7 separate regions of the Homo sapiens genome follow, and all the other regions are linked to region 4. Evidence: promoter capture Hi-C in 16 types of primary human blood cells and fetal thymus (Javierre and others, 2016). All regions are on one chromosome and are shown on one strand. The core of a region is centred on a gene start or on the middle of the fragment in contact, and the rest is flanking DNA. Distances in the headings are between cores, read along the strand shown. Region 1 overlaps PCSK5 (proprotein convertase subtilisin/kexin type 5). Region 2 overlaps PCSK5 (proprotein convertase subtilisin/kexin type 5). Region 3 has its middle 290 kb from the start of PCSK5. Region 4 holds the start of PCSK5 (proprotein convertase subtilisin/kexin type 5). Region 5 overlaps PCSK5 (proprotein convertase subtilisin/kexin type 5). Region 6 overlaps PCSK5 (proprotein convertase subtilisin/kexin type 5). Region 7 overlaps PCSK5 (proprotein convertase subtilisin/kexin type 5).

What was found. Contacts are between HindIII fragments. The CHiCAGO score rates a contact against its expected background, and 5 or more counts as called.
Region 1: a contact is called between a fragment that was not itself captured here and the fragment with the promoter of PCSK5 in region 4, in 5 of 17 cell types (M1 macrophages, naive CD4 T cells, M0 macrophages and 2 more). The highest score is 7.5, in M1 macrophages.
Region 2: a contact is called between a fragment that was not itself captured here and the fragment with the promoter of PCSK5 in region 4, in 2 of 17 cell types (M1 macrophages and M0 macrophages). The highest score is 5.7, in M1 macrophages.
Region 3: a contact is called between a fragment that was not itself captured here and the fragment with the promoter of PCSK5 in region 4, in 1 of 17 cell types (M2 macrophages). The highest score is 5.5, in M2 macrophages.
Region 5: a fragment that was not itself captured here is called in contact with the fragment with the promoter of PCSK5 in region 4 in 2 of 17 cell types (non-activated CD4 T cells and total CD4 T cells); the score reaches 5.2 in non-activated CD4 T cells.
Region 6: a contact is called between a fragment that was not itself captured here and the fragment with the promoter of PCSK5 in region 4, in 2 of 17 cell types (naive CD4 T cells and M1 macrophages). The highest score is 6.9, in naive CD4 T cells.
Region 7: a contact is called between a fragment that was not itself captured here and the fragment with the promoter of PCSK5 in region 4, in 2 of 17 cell types (M0 macrophages and M1 macrophages). The highest score is 5.1, in M0 macrophages.

Annotation. Positions count from the first base shown.
Region 1 is chr9:76,292,867-76,296,158 of GRCh38, reverse strand. It overlaps PCSK5 (proprotein convertase subtilisin/kexin type 5), which reads right to left. Exons shown (of 38, transcript NM_001372043.1): 26 at 748-884. Among named protein-coding and RNA genes, the nearest start is that of RFK, 100 kb to the left of the region's middle. The HindIII fragment of the contact is 5,529 bases long and covers 1-3,292 here.
Region 2 is chr9:76,253,695-76,257,018 of GRCh38, reverse strand. All of the region lies in intron 24 of PCSK5 (proprotein convertase subtilisin/kexin type 5), which reads right to left. Among named protein-coding and RNA genes, the nearest start is that of RFK, 140 kb to the left of the region's middle. The HindIII fragment of the contact is 1,538 bases long and covers 659-2,196 here.
Region 3 is chr9:75,601,119-75,604,158 of GRCh38, reverse strand. No RefSeq gene overlaps it. Among named protein-coding and RNA genes, the nearest start is that of PCSK5, 290 kb to the left of the region's middle. The HindIII fragment of the contact is 1,912 bases long and covers 720-2,631 here.
Region 4 is chr9:75,889,239-75,892,148 of GRCh38, reverse strand. PCSK5 (proprotein convertase subtilisin/kexin type 5) reads right to left here and starts at 1,476. Exons shown (of 38, transcript NM_001372043.1): 1 at 776-1,476. The coding sequence starts at 967. The HindIII fragment of the contact is 12,342 bases long and covers 1-2,910 here.
Region 5 is chr9:76,172,092-76,175,031 of GRCh38, reverse strand. PCSK5 (proprotein convertase subtilisin/kexin type 5) reads right to left here. Exons shown (of 38, transcript NM_001372043.1): 14 at 1-46. Among named protein-coding and RNA genes, the nearest start is that of RFK, 220 kb to the left of the region's middle. The HindIII fragment of the contact is 6,514 bases long and covers 1-2,940 here.
Region 6 is chr9:76,273,813-76,277,115 of GRCh38, reverse strand. All of the region lies in intron 24 of PCSK5 (proprotein convertase subtilisin/kexin type 5), which reads right to left. Among named protein-coding and RNA genes, the nearest start is that of RFK, 120 kb to the left of the region's middle. The HindIII fragment of the contact is 2,246 bases long and covers 723-2,968 here.
Region 7 is chr9:76,310,851-76,314,138 of GRCh38, reverse strand. It overlaps PCSK5 (proprotein convertase subtilisin/kexin type 5), which reads right to left. Exons shown (of 38, transcript NM_001372043.1): 30 at 3,288. Among named protein-coding and RNA genes, the nearest start is that of RFK, 82 kb to the left of the region's middle. The HindIII fragment of the contact is 3,878 bases long and covers 1-3,288 here.

The sequences.
Region 1 (3,292 bases), core at 285-2,784, 400 kb before region 4:
CAGTGAGCTGAGATTGCGCCACTGCACTCCAACCTGGGTGACAAGAGTGAGACTCCATCTAAAAAAATCCAACACTTTACCTAAGTCCTTTTTCAACTGGGAATTTACATTGGCCATTAGAGGGTTAAGAGCATCGAATACAGAATCCTTGAGGCCTTGAAAAATTACAAATAAAATAAATCTCTGTGTAGAGAAACACTGAAGATCATTGTGGGCTGTCCTTCTCATTCTTTCTCCCCCAAACACTCAAGTGCATTGGGCTATTATCCTCTTCAGCTGGAAGAGTCACACTGTATTTCTTTCCTAACTATCCATTTCCATCAGTCAGTGAGTTGACCAAAGCCTAAGGCAAGGGATCTTGTTAGATTCTTACAGTGCATGGGGATATATAAGATGGATTAAGTCTCAAGACAAGGGTCAGAGCTCTCAATATGCCAGGTGACTTCAATGCCAAAACATTCATCTTCAGGTCCCCACTCTCTATCTCCATCCAATTCAGCCTTGTTTCCATCAGCTTGGAGATATTTGAGATTAATTAGTGGAACAGGAACCATGCTTCAGTAATAAAAGCAGAAGGAGGTGGTTTGGCTAATGTTTATTTCTAAACCAAATTAAAATTTCTCCTTGGGCCAGAGGTGCCCACACGCACAGACTCTGAAACCAATCACATGTGCGCTCCTGTGGCCCCGACTGTGTGGAGCTCCAGTGCCTGGTTCTTAGCTTGGATGGTGCCATTTTCTAACTTACCTAAGAGAAAGAAGCCCTCTTCACACCAGTAACACCCATTCTGGTCACAGCTGCCACAGTTACTATCACACGCCTTGCATTCCACTTCCTCACTGTAGGTCTTCTCAGGACAGGTTTTATAACAATGGTGATCAAACCTAGAGGAAGAAGACATCATTTCTTTCATGACTTATGTTGATGTATTTCTCTTCACCATAATTTAATCTCCTTATGTATGTCTATGCAGAGTTTTTTGTTTCGTTTTGTTTTGTTTTGTTTGAGATGGAGTTTTGCTCTTGTCGCCCAGGCTGGAGTGCAGTGGTCGATCTCGGCTCACTGCAACTTCTGTCTCCCGGGCTCAAGTGATTCTCTTGCCTCAGCCTCCCGAGTAGCTGGGATTACAGGTGCACACCACCATGCCTGGCTAATTTTTGTATTTTTTTCCAGAGAGGGGGTTTTGCCATGTTGCCCAGGCTGGTCTCAAACTCCTGGCCTCAGGGGATCTGCCCACCTCTGCCTCCCAAAGTGTTGGAATTACAGGCATGAGCCACCACGCCCAGCCTGTGCAGCATTTTCAACAGGAGTGGATAATTGAATTTCAGGCTTGGTCTGTTATGCACCCCTCAACCCAAGTCACTAACCACCTCCTTCTGGACCTCCAAGGACTCTTTATCAGGGCAGCTGGGAGAAGGCTGGGGAGAAAGAAGGGGTACTGATACTTATTTATAGAGTACTGATTATGTGTCAAGTATTAGCTCATCTAAATCTCCACAAATCTCGTATGGTAGATATCATGTATCTTTAATTTCTAGATAAGGGAACTGGAGCTCAGGGTTAAGTGCTCAAAAATCACAGAGCTAGCTAACGGTGGGACTGGGATTTTAACCAAAGTCTGTGTGAAAAGGTTGCTTGTGTGATTTATCACATAGCAACTGGCACTGAGGCCTGAAATAGCTTGGTGTCGAGTCCAGGCAGCTTACTAAAATGTCTGTAACCAGATTATTAACAATAGTAGCGAAGTAGCTTAGCTTTTATTTATAAATATTTTTATGTACGTTATCTGTTATTCTCATTCTACAGTAAAATGTTGTAATTCAGACTCCACTGAATTGCAGGCTTACCTGAAGGAGGAGTGGAGTGAAATTGACCCCTGCCTTTGATGAATTTCAGAGCATCAGCATGATATCAGGGGAAACCTTTGCATATCTTCCTTAACAACTGTTTTTTTTTTTTTTTTTGAGACTAAATCTCCCTGTCACTGAGGCTGGAGTGCAATGGCATGATCTTGGCTCACTGCCACCTCCACCTCCTGGGTTCAAGTGATTCTCTTGCCTCAGCTTCCTGAGTAGCTGGAACTACAGATGCATGCCACCACACTCGGCTAATTTTTGTATTTTTAGTAGAGACGGGGTTTCCCCAGGTTGGCTAGGCTGGTCCCAAACTCCTGACCTCAGGTGATCCACCCACCTTGGCCTCCCAAAGTGTTGGGATTACAGGCGTGAGCCAACACGCCCAGCAACAATGTCTATTGTAAGGCATTTCACTCGCTGTATTCAAAGTTGCTGAATGTTTTCAAAGATTATATATGTTTGTTTCTTGAAATAAATATCTCATGTTGTACCCTTAGTGATATTGGAGCATGTTCTTCCAGGGTATTTGTTTTTCAGAGGGTTTTATGAAACATGCTCATTAGCGAGTAGTGGAGAGCTGAAGAGGCGGCCAGGTTTGGCTCCAACGTTTAACAGAGGATGTTTGACAAAGTTTAACAGAGCCTGGCCAACATGGCGAAACCCTGTCTCTGCTAAAAATACAAAAACTAGCTGGGCGTGGTGGTGTGCACCTATAATCCCAGCTACTAGGGAGGCTGAGGCACAAGAATCACTTGAACTTGGGAGGCAGAGGTTGCAGTGAGCTGACATCGTGCCACTGCACTCCAGCCTGGGCCACAGAGTGAGACTGTCTTAAAAACAAACAAACAAAAAAAACCCAAAAAAACAAAGTGGGTCAGGAGTGCAGTGATGTGAGACATAGTCAATGTAGAGAATGGCAGGCTATTCTGGAAAAGTTAGATTAAAACCGTAAGGCTAAGAACTGATAAGGTTAACTGATCATTTTTAGTATGTTTCAGCTTGTTGGGCTTCCCTTTCTCTCCCATCCTCCACACTCCTTTTACTTTTTCTTACCTATTACCACATTTCAAGTGTATTTGTTTTTGGACAGGTGGGTCGCCTTCTCTTGTCACCACATTGCTTTGTCCAATTCTATGGATGGAGGGAAAAGGCAATGTGACAAGAGGAGGTGACCCGCCAAAGGCCAAATGTCGCAAATGTAGACCTGTCAGTAGCTGTGGTGCAACTGGAGTAAAACCTTGCCCCTCTCTGAGCTTCAGTTTTCTCTTCAGGAGATTAACATCCTCCTGTGTCTCTGACAATCTCAATAAAATGATCGAGAGATGAAATAGTCGTGAGAGTTTGTATATCACAAAACTCCTGAGTTCTTAGGAGGACAGGGAGGGATTATGCAGCCCATGCATCACCCACGGACTTCCTTTCCTTTGCAGCTCCTT
Region 2 (3,324 bases), core at 178-2,677, 360 kb before region 4:
ATAGAGCCTCTTGGTTCCTCTCTCTTGAAGAACTCAAGATATGAGCACCTTTCTAGTTTTCATCATAATCTCTAGGGACCTATTAGGAGGTACAAGGAAGGCAATTTATGTGATGCTTTCCTTTATAAAACAGGATAGAATTAAGAAACAAAAAATGTAAAGGGCTTGCCCAAGATTTTCACTGTGTTAAGGGAAGGATGGAAATGAATAGAGACTAAGATTTCTGACTCAATTTTCCACACTCCTGCAAAACTAAATGAGACCTAACCATCTGAAGTTCTAGTCACTACTGCCAGACTCATTTTTATTTTTCTTTAAGCGTGATGAACAGGCACGAGCTGGGGTCTTGATTGACTAAGGGTTTCAGAAAAATCGAAGATATTTCACTAAAAGGAAGTAATTTGGCAATGATTTTCCAGGTTATTATTCCTAATCATGCAGAATCATTCTCACTGGTTTCCAGATTCATCTGTAAAGGTGAATCCATCCCTCCAGCTCAACTGCCCTTGGACGTTTAATGTCACAGACCCCACATTGCTTTCGAGACTGGCAGACGGTCTTCTGAACCCTCCACCCTGTGTGTCCGGCTCGACCACACTCCGCTTTTGTTTAACGAGGTTTGTTTTGGAAGTACTTGGCTCAGTTCTCTCTGCAAGCTTACGTGATCCAGACAGACTTGGCTCACAGCTCGACTTAGCAGGTCAGTTACACAACAAGTAGGAGGAACTTCGATTATACCCGGCTCCGGGGGAAATAGCGTAATAGCATGAAGAGCCAAGATGATGAGCTAATTGCTCTAGAATTGAACTTAAGATACCTCGCCACTATGTTCTTCTCCCCCATAACTCTAAGAATGTGAGCTTGAATGTTGGAGAAGGAGCAAAGGAAATGTCAGGAGACACAACTAAGGAACAGAGAATGTAATCAAGAATGAAACAAATGCAGCAGACCAACCTTTGCACAACTTTCATTTATGTTCTTTAGGAAAATAGTGTATGAGTGCAGTCTACTTTGGAAAAAGAGCAACTATTTGGTTGGTCTGTGGGTTTGGAGCCAGACAGTCCTAAGTCTGAATTTGGCTCTAACACTTGCTAGCTGTGTAACTTTAGGCAAATGACATAAGCTCCCTGGGCATTGGTTTTTTCATCTATAAAATGAGGATAAGGAATTTTTTTCTTCTTTTTGAGACAGGATCTTGCTCCATTGCCCACGCTGGAGTGCCATGGTGCCATCATAGTTCACTGCAGCCTCAGCCTCCCGGGATCAACCAATCCTCCTGCCTCAGCCTTCTAAGTAGCTGGGACTATGGGTGCGTGTAACCGCACCAGGCTAACTTAAAAAAAAAATTTATTTGTAGAAATGGGGCCTTGATGTGTTGGCCAGGCTGGTTTTGAACTCCTGACTTCAAGTGATTCCCCTCACCTGCCACCTTAACTGCCCAAAGTGCTAGGATTACAGGTGTAAGCCACTGAGCCTAGCCTATCATAAGGATTTTGAGCAGAGAGAATTACATTGAAGATTAGAGGTCATGTTTGTAAAATGTCCACCTAGCTGAACAATACATTCTAATATAATGTATCTGCCTCTGTTTCAGCTTCCATTCTCAACACAGTATCTTAAACAGATGTTGAAGTTATCTGTTTCTATATCTATCTTAATCAGTGGCTTTCAACTCTGGTTGCACATTAGAATTAGTCAGGGAGTTTTTTAAAATTATTTTTTTTATTTTTTTGAGAGAGAGTCTTATTCTGTTGCCCAGGCTGGAGTGCAGTGGCATGATCACAGCTCACTGAAACCTCAATTTCCCGGGCTCAGGCAATCATCCCACCTCAGCCTCCCTAGTAGCTGGGACTACAGGTCTGTACCACCACACTCAATTAATTTTTGTATTTTTAGTAGAGATGGGGTTTCACCATGTTGCCCAGGCTGATCTCAAACTCCTGGCCTCAAGTGATCCACCCACCTCAGTCTCCCAAGGTGTTGGGATTACAGGCATGAGCCACCATGCCTGGCCAGGGCGTTTTAAAAAAATACTGATGCCCACACCTCACTCCAGACTAATTAAATTAGAAACATTGGGAGTAGGTATCAGCACCTGCATTTTACAGCTCCGCAGGATCCTAATATGTACCCAGAGCTGAGAACTTCTGGCCTATCGCATTTGCATGTGAGCAGCTTAGGAGCAAAGAACAAGCTTTATTCATCTTTATATCCCCATGTCTAGCCTGATGTAGATGCTCAGGAAATATTTCTTGAATCTAACTCAAAAACTGAGAGATGCTGTTCAGATTCCCAAGACGTGTCTTATATGGGCGAATACATTTTTTAGGCAGCAAACAAAGGCAAGAGACAGCAGCACTTGCTATTGTCACAGTAGGCATTTGAAAAATGACACTAAAGAAGGGTCAAGTTCCTTTTAGCTGACAGCCTACCTATTGACTATAAGGCATTGACCACTGGTCCTCTTCTTGACTCATCAGTTGCCAGAGATAAAAGAAGTGAGATAACAGAATACTTGGGGAAATTTCATCTTTTTTTTTTTTTTAAATAGTGACTTCTTCAAAAGAGTTGCTTTGAGAGAAGAAAAAAGTTAGACATTTCCAAGGTAAGACAATGGACAAGTTCAGAGGAGCAGAAGAGAAATAATTTATTGAAGCATATCGGGCACACATCTGGGACTATTTCATGTACAAACACACAATGTGAAAGCTCAGAATATGCCAGCAACAGTCCCATGACCCATAGTCATTCCCCTGTGAGACTGTCACCATTACACACAATCATTATTTTCTCTCTTTTCTGCAGGCACATGGTAAGATTGCACCTCCCCACTCTCTGATCCCAGGCGTAATCATGTAACTTGCTTTAGCCAAAAATACGTAAGCAGGAGGTACAAGTGCCACATCCTGGAGAAACCTCTAAGAGCCAGTGTCTGCTTTGTGTCTGCCATGGCAAGGTAGTGGCTGCTCTATCAACCTGGTCCTGAATTAAGGATCACACAGAGCAGAGTTCTCAGCTCACCCATGATGAAGATGTAGCATGAGAGAGAAATAAACCTGTGTTGTTTGAAGTCACCGAGATTTGGGAAATACAACCCTGTGTATCCTAGTGTTTACTTATAACAAAGAGCTTCTAAGCCAACTACTTCCTTTGTGAAGACAGGGAGCAAAGTTATGCACAAGGTTGCTCCAAACAAACTGCTTCTGAATTACTCTGTCATTTCCCATATGCATAAAATTGGTCACATTTCAACATTTCTCTAACCCTCAGTTTCCCCATATGTAAAAATTGTTGGGTTGCAGATGTGAAAACACATCACGTACA
Region 3 (3,040 bases), core at 426-2,925, 290 kb after region 4:
GGGGATAGGCAGGTGAGAAAGAAATCTTTTCTATCAGTGAAGTTAGAAAGTACAAGTTGAGGAGTGTTGTTCATTACATTTCACCATGTACAAAAGCAAATGTACTATTTTCAAGAAGGTTGTAGAGCTGTTTTCTTACTAAATCACACTCTGTCTCTCAGTAAATTTTTCTGAACTTAAGCAAAGCCCTGGCAATAATATTTTGTAATCCAGAAGAAAATCCAAAATATATTCACACACTAGATCTCATATCATTGGTTTTAAGGATATGATTGCTGAAGGATTCAATCTCTCATCGCAGAGACGTAAAGGAAAATTAAATGATTCATGGAATTCTCTCCAGGGACACATGTTTCAAATATTTCTCAGTAATATTTCACTTCAGGTAAGTAACTTACATTCTTTACACCTCAGCTTTCTTATCTATGAAATAAAAAGTTTGGATCAGAAGAGTGCTTTTCAAAATACGGCTATGAAACTCTCTGAGCAGAATCATCAAAAATTTCTATTTTAATTGCAAATTTTCCAGATGAACCTCAAAAACATCATACTAAGGGAGAAAAGTTAAACACAAAAGGCTGTATGTATACTGCAAGATTACATTTATATGAAATTCCCCAAACAGCAAAATTACGGGGCTGGAAATCAAACAGGTGATTGCCTGGGGGTTATAAGCGGGGGAGGGAAAGGAGATGGATTGTAAAGGGGCATGAAAAGCTTTGTAGGGTGATGCAACTGTTTCATATCTTGATTGTGATGGAGATTTCATGGCTGCATACAATTATCAAAATTTGCAAAGCTGTACACCTCAAGGGAGTGAATTTTGCTGTATTTAAGTTATAAGGCAGCCAAAACTTGGCAAATTCCTGGGCCTTATCAGAATCTGAATTTTTAACAAGCTCCCTCAATGGATGTTTTATTCACTAAAATTTGGGAATTACTGAATTTAATAATGTATTCATCTCTTACAAATTTAGAATTCCATAAAACTCCACATTGGGTGACAGTGGCAGTGTTACTTGATGTCAAAGATAGATGACAAAGGATATTTTTAGCTGTTATGCAGACTATGAAATATATGGAAAACTAAGAACTCTAGAAGTTAAAAAAAATTCTTTTTAAGGTTGGGGAACTTCTATCAACGGAACAGATTTAGAAGAAGATTAGGAAGAAGGACTTAGCGTGGGGGATAGGAGAACTTCTGGGGCTGGTTGTGTTACCTAGTCCATGCCTGGACAGAGTTCCTTTGCCTCTGGCTACATGTACTCATTCTTGAAATTCAGAAGAATGCAGGTTTGGAGAGCAAGATGAGCCAAAAACAGTTAATAGTATTTTTTTTTTCTTTCTGTCCCTACAAGCATCATTCTCATTCCTGTTAGTCTGAGTTTTTTTTTATTTTTCTTTTATTTATTTATTTATTTTGAGACAGTGTCTTGCTCTGTCACCCAGGCTGGAGTGCAGTGGTGCTGTCTCAGCTCACTGCAACCTTCACCTTCTGGGTTCAAGTGATTCTCCTGCCTCAGCCTCCTGAGTAGCTGGATTACGTGTGTGCACCACCACGGCCTGGCTAATTTTTGTATTTTTAGTTGAGAAAGGGTTTCACCATATTAGCCAGGCTGGTCTGGAACTCCCAACCTCAGATGATCTGCCTGCCTCAGCCTTCCAAAGTGCTGGGATTACAGGCATGAGCCATTACGCCCGGCCTGTCTGGGTTTTAAATAATTTTAGTAAGCTAATGAATCCTTTTCCAAATCTCTCAGGCCTATCATATTGTTAGAGATATAAAACACAATGGGCTGTCCGAAGTTCCCTGGAACACTGCTAATTATCCTCAGAAGAGCTGAGCACAGCAAGGTCTGGAATTCTAGCTCTTCTGCCATGCATGTGGATTATGACATCATCCAAGTTAATTGATTGCATTCCTATCTACCTTTCCGTTTGGGACCATGTATTATTCAGAATATTTTTTTGTTGTTGATACAAAACAAGAAGTGCTCATCCTTTGGAGCAGTGCCTTGGTGTCTGAGATCACGTTATTGATGGTTAAGTGCTGTCAGTTACTGGGGAGGGACAAGGATCTGCCAGTGGTTGCCTGGAAATGGCCTTAAAGTGGGCAGAGGAGGGTATGAGAAGATCCAAAAACCAAAGAGGATTTCAACACTTGGAGCATAACAAACGAACGATTCTTCAACAAACAAACGCTATAGATAGAGTCATGCAGTAAACTCCTAAAGGGGAAGCAATAAGCTAAGAATGACCAGGCTCAAATATAGAAACATAACCCAGGCCACTTTGGCTAGCCAAGGAAAAATGCTTCATAGATTCACTCTCTCCCGCCTTCTTTTGCTGCCTAACTGCTTGTTTTTATCCTTCCTTCCCCATTCCTCTCTCCCTGCCTTCTCCCCTTTCTTCCTTGATTCGTCATTTAAACGAATGTCTTCTGAAAACAGGTCCAAAATGGGACTGGAGAAATGCAATGAATATGAAAGTCACAGTTCCTATGGAAAAGCTCATAAGCTGGCGGGAGAGCCCAATAGATGAACAATGACAATTAAACATAAAAAGTGCTTTAGTGAAACCAAGTGCCACAGGAGCCCGAGGAGCAAGCACCTAGCTCTTCCTAGGGAAGCTTTCTTACCTTATACCAGTGGTTCTCATAGAATAGAGATTTGTGCCTCCCAGTGGACATTTGGCAATATCTCAAGACATGCATGAAACAAGGACAAGAGAGCAGACATAGAAAGAAAGAAACTTCAGATGGTGATGTAGCTCTAATACTTGTAGAAGGAGAGAGAGAAGGAAGAAGGCTGAGCCCCAGACTGCAATGCTGCCCTGTAAAAGTCTTGGTCAGCCTGAAGAGGAATCCTTGAGTAGGGATTGTCCACTATAGGAGTCATATGTTGGGCAAGAACTGCCTGTCCCTAGGATCCCAGCATGCTCAGTCACTGGCTGAGAGCTTCTGGGAAAGACAACAGTCTTGGCATGAATGCATGGTGGATACGGAGATGTGGCCGCAGAAGCTGTCAGCTGACAATGCTCC
Region 4 (2,910 bases), core at 227-2,726:
CACGGCGCAACCTCCCGGCCCGGCACCTTCCGTCCCGGGGTAAGACTCCTCGTTTTCCCGGAGCGGAACCCAGCCAGCCGGTTTCGGAAGTTTCCCACCTCCCCACTACAACTCCCTTCCGGGAGCCCCCACGCGGACCTCGCTTAAGGCGAGAAAGCCTAGAGGTCTCCCCTAAATCTGCACTCACACCGGGGCCGGCCCCCTCTTCCCTCCCCCTCCTTTCTCCTCCCTTCCAGCTCCAGTCCCCGCGCCTCCGGAGTCTCCAGCGCCAGAGGTTCTCTCGCCCAAGAGGAAACTTCTTTCTGGGCTAAATTCAGGTCCGAGCAGGAAAGGCTTTCCCTTCCCCGCAGGCATCAGAGGCGCGCTCACCCCCTATCCCCCAAAAGACCTAATTTCCCCCTCTCCCCACGATCACCCTCTCTGAGACTGCCTCAGATTACTAGTGCTACTCGACTTTTCAGGTCAAAAGGTCCAGCCGTCTCTGAAGCCACCACGGGGGCACTCTGGATTTTTCCCGAGACCCTACCAGTCCCGCGTGGCTTGGAAAAGACAAGTAAACAAAACACGGACCCGGCAACTCTGGGGTGTGTGTGTGTGTGTGTGTGTGTGTGTGTGTGCGTACGCGCGCGCGCGCAGGAGACAGAGCATCGCCCAAGAGTTAGGGCAACAGCTGCTAGAGCACATCTGGAAGAGGGGGAGGGGGTTCCACGCAGAGGGGACAAGAAGCCCCCAGTGGCTTCAGGGCCGAGGGCTGGGCTAGCCTGTAGTTCGTTACCTGTCCTATGTTGATGAATCCGTACTTGCTGGCGATACGGTTGGCCTCCGGGAAGCCCCCGGCGATTTTGACTGCCCAGTGGTTGGTGTAGACGCGCGTCCGACACACGGGGAGCAGGCAGCCCCCGAGCAGCGCCAGCACGCACAGCAGGTCCAAACGTCCCGGGCAGCAGCAGCGGCTCCCCCAGCCCATGGTCCCGGCGCCTCGCTGCTCCCTCGCTCGCTGGCTGGTTCCGCGCACTAAGGGCGCGCACAACTAACTTCTCCGGCCTGCGCCGCCCGGCGAGCAGCCCCGGGCCGCCGCAGCTCGCAGCCCCGGGCGATCGGCAGGAGGCGGCTAGCCCCGGCAGGGAGCAGAGCAGCGAGCCTTACGCCGGCTCCTAGACCATCCCTGGGGCTGCCGGGACCTGTGCTCCCAGCTCTCCGGCCCGTGGGGCGCTCGGCGATGCTCCCCGGCTCGGACGCAGGAGGAGGCTGAGTGGGGCGGGCGTCCTCCGCAGTTGGGTTTCGCCCGGCTTGGCTCCCGGACTCTCCGACTCGGTCTCGCTCCTCCCGGGGCCCCCGAGCGCGGCGGAGATGACCAGCGGGAGCGGTACAGGCAGCGACCGGGCGCCCCCTCTGCTGGCCCGGGCTCCAAACGCTCGCTTGCTCGCTCCCAGCGCTCCCTCCGGCTCCGAGCAGCGCGCGAGGATTCTGAGTGGCAATGGCAGCAGCTCCTGCTCTGCATAAATGACTTCCCCCGCCCCCCTTAACACCCCTCCTTTCCCACATCGCCCTCCTCCTCTCCCTCCTCCGCCCTCTTGAAAGCGGCCGCAGCCAGGCGCTGACGAGGTCCTAGCGCCTCCGGGTTCGCCCAGCTGTAACCTCCAGGGTTCCGGGCAGTAAAGGCAAGTCTTTCCAAAGGACTGAGAAGAGCGCTCCGAGATCGTGGTTTTACTCCCTTCTCTTCCCTCCCTGCTGGATTTGTATGAATTTACCGCCACTTCCCGAAAGACTAAAGAAATTTACACGCCGGTGCGAATTAACCGCCCTGAAGATTCATTCATCCTCGTTCTAAACGTCCTTAAATAACTAGGCATTTAAGGAGGTCACTTACGTGTCAATTGCCGAACAAATAACTCGAGATTTTCACTTCGTTAATTCTTCATGCTTTTCAGCAGCTGTTTATTTTACACTTTCTGCTCCCGGGAGAAGCTACCACACAGGACAGTAAGTCGCATCGACTCCTAGAATTGGCTCGAAAGCCAAGTCTGTTGCCTGCTCACTTTCGAAATCTGCGATACTAGGCAACGCCACGGGAGAGTACAATTCCGGCCTTGGAAGTGAGGAAAGATGTTTCTATGAATATTTGGTGTGCTAGTGGATGGACATGTTGGGCCAAGGAAATAACTCCATTCATTTGTTGGATTGCGTCTGACGAGGGCTTCTTTTTCTCCACCAAGGGAAAAGTTTCCCAACTTTTCCAAGCACAGTCCTGTAACAGTGAAAGACTTTAATATGAAAAAGACCACAGAGGAAGTTCAGATGAGATATGTGGCGGCGTCACCTTCATTACTCTATCATGCACTGTGACTGCAGCAGGCAGGAGGGAGCTCAAATTAACCCTCTTCTCGCTTCTCCTTTACAACCTCCCTGCCTTCCTGGAGCGGGGGTGGGGCACAGGGTGATTTACTGTGACAAGAAAAATTATCCCGTATGAAATAATTCAACTGACTTTAAAAGTATTCACTATATCCCTAACTGTCCTCCTTTCTCTCCTCCTACCATGCCCTATTTCTTTCTTCCTGTTAATTTAAATGTGTTTGAGATTAATTAACTCATCCCACCTATAGCTTTTGGTACTGATTTTTTAAAATCTGAAAGATACCTGCAGACTTAAAATTCCACTAGTACCTTTGAGCATAGCATTTGACATTTTACATATTGTATAAGGTATGCTATATTATTTAATCTTGAAAACAAACCCACAAAATAACATCATCCCCACATTATAGCTGAAGAAATAGAAGATCAGAAGAACTAAAACATGTGCAGAAGTGTATGTATTTTATTCGTTTATTTATTTGACTGATTCAACACATCTGTTTTGAGCACCTAGCATGTGCAATGAATTGTGCTGTACACTGGAGAAAGGGG
Region 5 (2,940 bases), core at 60-2,559, 280 kb before region 4:
TGCACGGAGGTGCCGTAGAGGACCAAAGACCATTCTTTCAATTTACCTTGAGAAATAATAATGAAATCACAGCATGACCAAATTTTCCCTCTTTAGCTCTGTAACATCTTTAAGTCCTTCTCACTCAAGAAAAAGCAACAGAACTGTGGGAGGCAGATGGATATCAATCACTACATCAAACGCAGAGCTAGAAATGCGTATTTCTCGTCATCTGCAGAATTATTTAATAATTCACATACCACATATTGACTGAGCATGTACTACCAGAGAGGCCTTGATTTAATCAGCATTTATAGGAAGACTGAGAAACAAACACACTTCAGATTGCTGGATCAAGGGCTGAATTTCAAATTAGAAATATTTAAGAGAATCCCAGGACTTAATAGAAGGCTTTGTTTTTCTAGGTATAAAAAGTCTTATATGGCCCGGTGCGGTGGCTCATGCCTGTAATCCCAGCACCTTGGGAGGCTGAGACTGGTGGATCACGAGGTCAGGAGATTGAGACCACCCTGGCTAACACGGTGAAACTCCGTCTCTACTAAAAATACAAAAAAAAAATTAGCTGGGCGCAGTGGCACGTGCCTGTAGTCCCAGCTACTTGGGGGGCTGAGGCAGAAGAATCCCTTGAACCTGGGAGGCGGAGGTTGCAGAGAGCGGAGATCACGCCACTGCACTCCAGCCTGGGCAACAGGGCAACACTCCATCTCAAAAAAAAAAAAAAATTTTTTTTTGGCATTATCTGACTTGTTAATAAGTAGACAGAACAACTCTTTGTTCTCCCTAATTCCTGGTATCGGTCATTCAATATTAAGAAAACATCACTAATTATACTGTCCTATAGACCTGTGCTGTCCAATGTGATAGCCATTAAACATTTGATTATTTAAACTTAAATGAACTAAAATTAACAAAAATTTTGAGATTCAGCTTCTCCATCACACTAACCATATTTCCAGTGCTCAAGAGCCATATGTGGCTAGTGGCCATCCTACTGGACAGCATTTCCATCATTGCAGAATGTTCTATGGGTCTATGTGCAAAACAGCATTTTCTTTCTTTTTTTTTGATTTCGTTCTGTCACCCAGGCTGGAGTGCAATGGCATGATCTAGGCTCACTGCAACCCCTGACTCCCTGGTTCAAGCAATTCTCCTGCCTTATCCTCCCAAGTAGCTGGGATTACAGGTGGCCCCCACCACACTCAGCTAATTTTTGTATTTTTTAGTAGAGACAGGGTTTCACCATGTTGGTCAGGCTGGTCTTGAACTCCTGACCTCAGGTGATCCACCCGCCTTAGCCTCCCTAAGTGCTGGGATTACAGACGTGAGCCACCACACTTGGCCCAAAACAGCATTTTCTGGGCAGGAACGCCTTGAGACCTGAGGCAAGTGTTTCACCTTCTATGAGTCTGGATCACTTACAAGGAACATTTTGCTTTAGTTTAGTTCTTATTTGTTAACTTATTTCTTAGCTTCACAAAATTGTGTTCAATGCAAAAAGTAAAAAAAAAAAAAAAAAAAAAAAAAAAAAAAAAAAAGGAAACGTGCCTCCATTTCATTAAAGTTAGTAAAACTGATCTCAAAAGGAATCAACCGTAAGCAGAAGTGATTAAGACAAAACCATTACAAACATAGGCATATGCTGGTAGGAAGGTAGAATGCCCCTCAGAACCCCTCTCACCTTGGCTGAATGCATAGAATCCAGACAAGGTCAGGGGCTAGCTCAGAAAGTGACGGATTTCAGCTTGTCAGCTTCCTTCATCTATGAGCACCTACCATCACCAACAAATCGATGTTTGATGTTTTTAAGTGCTTTCTATATGCTAAGCACCAGTCTAAGTGATTTGTAAGTTTTATTTCATTCACTGTTCAAAACAACTCTAAGGTGGGTACTAACAGTCCCAATATATAGAGGAGGAAACAGAGCTACAGAGGTTGGTAACTTCCTCAAAGGCAATAAGAGGACAGATTGGTATTAAAACATACTCCAATTCCAAATCCTGTGTTTTTAAACCATATACAAAATTATCTCCTATTCATTTCTAGGAGTTTAGGAGCCTGACATTTAAAAATGAACACATTCTGTGATGCATGCATTTTTTTCTGACTTTTACATTGGACCAGTACAATCGGTTTATGTATGGTTTGCCCTCTGCCAGCTTTTCTTTGGACTCATTTGTTAATGACCAGGCTTTTCACAATCAGGGTATTATTCAGGCCCAGAATTCTAAGTAACACGCATTAGGGAGTGATAAGAAGTGAATGACTGCTGGAAATTGATGACCTATCTGATTGCCTTTAGGTAGCAGTGCAAAAGAGAACGCATTTTCCTTATGGCATCTCTCAAGTGTACAAATGAAGCATATAATACAAGGACACTATAGGTCATCCTAATCATTAGTCACCTTAAAATTTAGTTCATTTTATTTAAGATCATTTTGGATGCAAAAGTTTACCCTCTAAGTGCTTTGAAGAGTGCTGTCTCAAAATTGATTATTTCCCTTTGTGCCATTTCTGAAGGACATCATAAGCCCACTAGGGATATCCTTCCTGTGTAATTCATCTCTTTATATTTCACTTATTATGTAATTTTATTTCCTTAGAACCTCTACTATGATTCACTTCAAATAACTGCCATATTTGGGCCATCATTTTTTTTTCTCCTCTACCCCTTTTTCTGTTTGCTAAATTTTATAGATGATTTTGCAATTAATATTGAAACCTGTTATTATGAAATAGCTGTGTAAATACAGAAGGAGAAAAATCCATCTTCCTTGCTAACACATAAATGCAATCTGCGTATATAGGTTCAATGTGCCAAAAATCAAAACAACACCCTCAAATGCTCTTAATATGTATTGTAATAATAAATAAATGACAAGAGACAATAAATAAATATAAATTCAGTTTGGAGCCAGGAAGTTCTATATTAGGGGATGAGTC
Region 6 (3,303 bases), core at 596-3,095, 380 kb before region 4:
TGGGACTACAGGTTTGTGCCACCACACCCACTAATTTTTTTTGTATTTTTTGTAGAGACAGGGTTTCACCATGTTGGCCAGGTTGGTCTCGAACTCTTGACCTCAGGTGATCCACCCGCCTTGGCCTCCCACAATGCTGGGATTATAGGAGTGAGCCACTGCACCCAGCCTAGATAATTATTAGAATGAAAACAAAGCATAAATTTTTGTTCAATAAATGCATGAAGCAAACAGTAAAACGCAAGCTTCATGAAGACAGGTTGTTCTGTTTTGTTTTCCTGTATCTCCAGTGCCAAGAACTGCTGGTATATAGCAGATGCTCCAGAAATATGCATTGGGTGAAGAAAACACATAAGTAAGTACGTAAATTCAGATAAAGGGTTAGAGAGTGATGAGACTGGGGTGGAGAGGAGAGGCCCTAATTTAGATGGGCTAGTGAGGCCGTGTCTTGCAAGAATTGACATCTGAGTAGAGATTCGAATGATAACAAAGAGCTAGCATGGGAGGTTCTGAGGGCAGGTGTTCCAGACAGAGGCCAGGGAAAGCTTGTCCCCTTCAAGGAACATCAAGAAGGCCAGTGGGGCTGGAAGAGATGGAGAGAAAGGGAGAGAGTCAGGAGGTGATGCCAGGGTCATAGGCAGGACAAGATCATATAGGATCTTATAGGCCAGGATAGGAGGTTTACATTCTAATCGAAGAGTAATGGGAGGGCATGAGAAGCTTCAGTAAAAATGACCTATGTGATCTGATTTATTTAAAATGATGACTGTGTCTACTGTGTGGTAATGGCTTATTTAACTGCAGAAACAGATACATCTATTAAATCTTGCTCAACTAGATTCTATGTAACACACTCAAGAAACTTTTATTTTATTTTATTTTTTTATTTATTTATATATTTTTAGGAATATCCTAGAGGAGAAATGATTAGGGATAAACTAAGACTGTGGGTGCAGTAACAGCAAAACTCAGATTTGAGAGAAAGTAAAGAAATAAAATTGAGAATATTAAATGATAAGATGTGTGGGGTGAGGGAATGGGATTACTCCGCGGCCTTGTCCAAGCACCTGGATGGATGGGAGAAGAGGAGCACCCAGCAGTGAAGTCGACTTAGAAGTAATAAACACTTAATTGATCCCACACTACAGTCCATCCACTGCTTTGGATACTGTAACGAGTATAGATGAGAAAGGCAGTCCCTACCTCAAGGAATTTGCAAATTGGCGAAGGGACAGTAATTAACAAAGCTAATTAGAGAGAAATCACAGTGTGGCGAATGATAGAATGGAGAAACCTCTAATGTAGTGTACCACAGAAATATTTTTTCAGGCTGAAAGAAGCCAAGTTATGATTCTCTCTCTTCTGTCTTCCCACATAATTAGTATTTCATCAGCCAGGCACAGTGGCTAATGCCTGGAATCCCAACATTTTGGGAGGCCGAGGCAGGTGGATCACTTGAGATCAGGAGTTTGAGGCCAGCCTGGCCAACATGGTGAAACCCTGTCTCTACTAAAAATACAAAAATTAGCCAGGTGTGGTGGTGCATGCCTGTAATCCTAGCTACTTAGGAGGCTGAGGCAGGAGAATCACTTGAATCCGAGAGGCGGAGGTTGCAGTAAGCCAAGATCATGCCACTGGACTCCAGCCTGGGTGACAGAAAGAGACTGCATCTGAAAAACAAACAAACAAAAAACCCCCAAAAAACCAAAGAAGCAAACAAACAAAAAATAGCTTTTTTAAAATCTTGCTTAATGGGCAAATTCAGAGCATTCTTATTATAGTTAGGGTTGTCAGATAAAATGCAGGGCTGGGATAGGAACACATGGATTGCAGTCTTAGTGAAGGATGGATGAAAAATAAACTTTTCAGGAGGAAGAGACAGGAAAAAATTATCTTGGTCTCATCCTTAGCATTGAGTAGTGCTATTTGACCATCCAAACCTCATGTTAAAATTTTATCTCCTCCCATTCAAATAGGTATAAAAACAATATTTTTAAAAAAAGGATAAATTTTTTTTTTATCTCCAATGTTAGAGGCAGGACCTAATGAGAGGTGTTTGGGTCATATGGGTGGATCCTTCATGCATGGGGTGGTGCTGTCCTCTTGGGAATGAGTGAGTTCTTGCTTTACTAATTCCCGTGAGAGTTCCTATGAGGGCTGCTTGTTCAAAAGAGCCTGGTGCCTCCCCTCCCCTTGCTTTCTCCCCCTTCCACCATGAGTGGAAGCAGCCTGGAGCCCTCGCTAGAAGCAGATGCTGGAGCCATGCTCTTGTACAGCCTGCAGAAGCATGAGCCAGATAAACCTCTATTCTTTCTACATTTCCTGGCCTCAGGTATTCTTTTATAGCAATACAAATGGACTAAGACAGGTAGATACAATAAAATAAAACAACAAAAAAACCCCTTTGAGAATGTGTAACCCTAAGCTAGATATCACATAGGTTTATAGTCATAATTCATGTTACTTGTGTGTTCTAGAACATCTCAAAAGGAAAATTCAGTTTCAAGTAGTTCCAGGTAAGTAATGCCTTAAGACCATTGACAGAAGGAAATGCAAATCTTCTCTTAAAAAATATAATCTTAACCCAGGCCTTAAAGTATTTTCATGGGTAAATTTTCAAGGAAAATGGTCACAGTTTAAAAACATAGACCACATAAGGAAATCAGTCACCATGAGAGAAAGTCAGCAGAAATAACACCAGAATCAAACCCACAGAGACTACAGATCTTGAAAGTAGCTGGTACAAAATATAAAATAACAAATATTTAAAATTTTTAAAGAAATAAAAAGAACATCTTAAAATATAAAATAACCGTGTGGTTTGTAAAACAACTACATATAACTTCTATAAGTGATAGACATAAAAATTAGAATCTAAAGCTCAGTGGATAGATTAAACAGTAGATTAGGCATAGCAGAAAAAGAATTAGGTAAACTCAAAGATAGATATAAAGAAAAGATAGAAGCTTCAACCCATAGAGGCAATAAAAGCTAAAAAACAGGAAAGGGTGGTTAAGAAACGTGGAGGTTAAAATGAGAAGGGCTAAAAAATGTCAAAGTTCCGAAGAGATAACTGAGAGAATGGGAAAGGTACAATATTTGATAACAATAAAATCCTTGAAAATGTTCCAGAATTGTTGGAAAAAAAAAAACAAAACCCACCAATCTGGCTGGGCACAGTGGCTCATGCTGGCAATCACAGCACTTTGCGAGTCCAAAGCAAGAGGCTTGCTTGAGCCTGGGAGTTTGAGACCAGCCTAGGCAATATAGCAAGACCCTGTCTCTACAAAAAAAAAAAGAAAA
Region 7 (3,288 bases), core at 372-2,871, 420 kb before region 4:
CAAAATGCATCTCTTTCTTCCTTGTTTTAATGTGTTGTCAATTCCTGGAACACTCAAAGAATCCAAGAGAGAGTTGAAAAAGGTAATGATTAAATAAATAAGGCAATAATAATGACAACCAGTTCAATCCTACCACTGAGGAAGCAATGACTGACTCTGGTAAGCAAATCTCTTTCACCTTTGCTTTATTGTAACACTTGGCTGAGTTTGCTGGGGTGGAGCTCGGTTGATAGGGGAGGAGGACTGGGAGTTTCCAAACCTGACTTCTCACCTGGGTTCTCTTACTCTGACCCTTTGCTACCCTTTCTCCACTCTCTGCTTGACAAAATCCTTCAAGAGCTAGGGACCATCAAGCCTTTTCTCAAATACCCAGCTGGGGATGAAGCTGGAAAACATTATGCTAAGTCAAAAAGTCTGTCAGAAAAAAACATGTTTTGTCTTTTTTGTTTTATGTGTTTTGTTTTTGTTTTCAGAGACAGGGTCTTGCTATGTTGCTCAGGCTGACCTTGAACTCCTGGGCTCAAGCAATTCTCCAGCCTTGGGCTCCTGATAGCTGGGACTAGAGGTGTGCACCATGGCCACCATGCTTGGCTCAAAGACCACATTTTATATAATCCCATTTATAGGAAATGTCCAAGAATAGCAAATCTACAGGGATAGAAAGTAGATTAGTGGTTGCTTAGGGCTGGGGGAAATGGAAAAAGTAGGAATAACAGCTAAAAGGGTATAGGGTTTCTTTCTAGGTTGATGACAATGTTCTGAAATTGATTGTGGTAATGGTTGCATAACTCTGTGAATATACTAAAAACCGTGAATTATACACTTTTAGGGGTGATTTGTATGGTATGTGAATTATATCTCAATAAAGTTGTGATTTAAAAAATACTCAATTGTACAAGAAGGCAGCACTGAGTGATAGTTAAGCACATGGACTTCAATGCCAGAGAGGTTTGGGTTCAAATTCTGGCCACACCATGTATTTGATGTGTAAAATTGAGCCTGCTATTCTTTTCCTCATTGGTCAAATGAGGGAAAATAATAGTAAGTGGATAAGAGAATTCTTGTGAGGATTAATGGGATCATACATTTACAGCCCTTAGCACAATACCTGGACGTTGCAAGCATTCAAAAAATAGTGATTTAAAATGTTTTCTTTTCTCTTGGAATCTCTTAGCCCTTTGTATATTAAGGCCCTGAGAAGTATGACATTGACTGATGTAAACCTCCCTTAGTGGATTGTAAGCATTTTTGCAGACTTGGACTTCCTGGAGTTGGTCTTAACTTAGCTTTCCATATCAGTGTCAATATCAACATCAATATCAATATCAATATCAATTGTTGGTAGAAGAATAGACTCCACTGAGCTACGCATATACAATACAATATATTGATATTGCATCAGTATCAATTTTTACCCCTAGTTGGTGCTAAATCTGTGTTGTTGAGCTGAATATGCTTGGCTTTCTACACTAGATTGGATGCTTTTTGAGGGTAAATACCTTATATTTATACTCTATATTTATACTCATAACTTATATTTATACTCTATAGAGTCTATCTCAGTAATGAAAACAAATAGGTCACTAGGAAATAGGTGCCAGTTTTGCTTTTTTGCTTTTTTTTTTTTTTGAGATGGAGTTTCGCTCTTGTTGCCCAGGCTGGAATATAACGGTGTGATCTTAGCTCACCACAACCTCCACCTCCCGAGTTCAAACGAGTCTCCTGCTTCAGCCTCCCGAGTAGCTGGGATTACAGGCATATGACACCATGCCTGGCTAATTTTGTATTTTTAGTAGAGATGGGGTTTCTCCATGTTGGTCAGGCTGGTTTTGAACTCCTGACCTCAGGTGATCCTCCCGGTTGGCCTCCCAAAATGCTGTGATTACAGGCGTGAGCCACCACGCCCAGCCAGGAAATAGGCGTTGTTGTATCAAATTCTTTTAATAAGAGGGCAAATGAAAATTCTAACTCCTTAAAGTAGACACTGTCAGTTACTTCCGCACATTTATTTCCTGCCTCCCTCTCTCCATTCTTCCTGGCTGTCAGAGTCCTGAGTTGCTTGGATGTTCAGGCGTGAATCTTGTTCAGCCTAAACCACTCCTATATTTCCATTCTTTTTGCCAGGGATTGATTTAGGGAGGTATCAGTGATGCATTCTTGCGACTGAGATTAGAATAAAAATCTGAGGAAATTTTCTTTTCTTCAAGAAAAGGATAAACAAGGGGAAACATCCCCTTTCCTGGCCCTGGTAGTGGCTGCATGGGGTGACCGTGTCTGGAGCTGAGACACGTAATGTGGGCTCAGCAGCGGTGCCAGTCAGAGAGGATGAGCTAAGGAAGGTACAAGAGCGAAACAGAAAAACCAGACTTTGTGATGACCTTGTTGGCCGCTGAAGTGACCAATACTGGACTTGCAGCATTTTTGTTCTGTGAGATAATAAACCCTGTTATGTCTCAGTCATTTTACTTGGCATTTCTGTTGCTTATTGCTGAAAGTTTCTTGCTGTACTCTTGCATTTGCTATTCCTCACTTTCTTCCTAGGTAAATTCTGGAGGTGGGACTATTGGTAGGAAGAGTAAAGCAACTACAAACCAGGGGACCAAGGAAACCAGGAGGAATCAATAAATAACTAACCAGGTGTTATTTATTATCTATAATTCATGCCTCACCTATTTAAACCTTTAGAAGAGGTGCACATCACAGCCTTACTTTTGTAATGGAGGAAAAAAAACATGACATCAGTTGATCATTAATATAAGGTGGGAAAATAATTTTTTTTTTTTTTTTAAAGACAGGGTCCTGCTTTGTCATCCAGGCTGGAGTACAGTGGTGCAATCACAGCTCACTGCAATCTCCTGGGCTCAAGGAATCCTCCCACCTTAGCCTCCCAAGTAGCTGGGACTACAGCACCCACTGGCTAATTTTTAAATATTTTGTAGACGGAGTCTTGCTATGTTGCCTAGGCTGGTCTCAAATTCCTAGCGATCCTTCTGCCTTAGCCTCCCGAAGTGCTGGGATTACAGGTGTGAGCCACCACGCCCAGCCCCTGAACATATTTTTCATAAAAGTAAAAATATATACATAAAATAGTCACAGAGGAGAAGTGGGCATCTGGCCTCATGTAAGTTTTGGCTGCTGTGGCGCACACCCATGTCAGTCAACAGAGGACATTTATGTGGGTGCTCGTAGAGCAGAGAAGAGTTTTTTGGTGAATAAGAAAGAATTGCTCCCAAAGTACCAGAGGAGAGTGATTACAAGCAGGAAGTAAAATTAAAAAGGAAACTTACT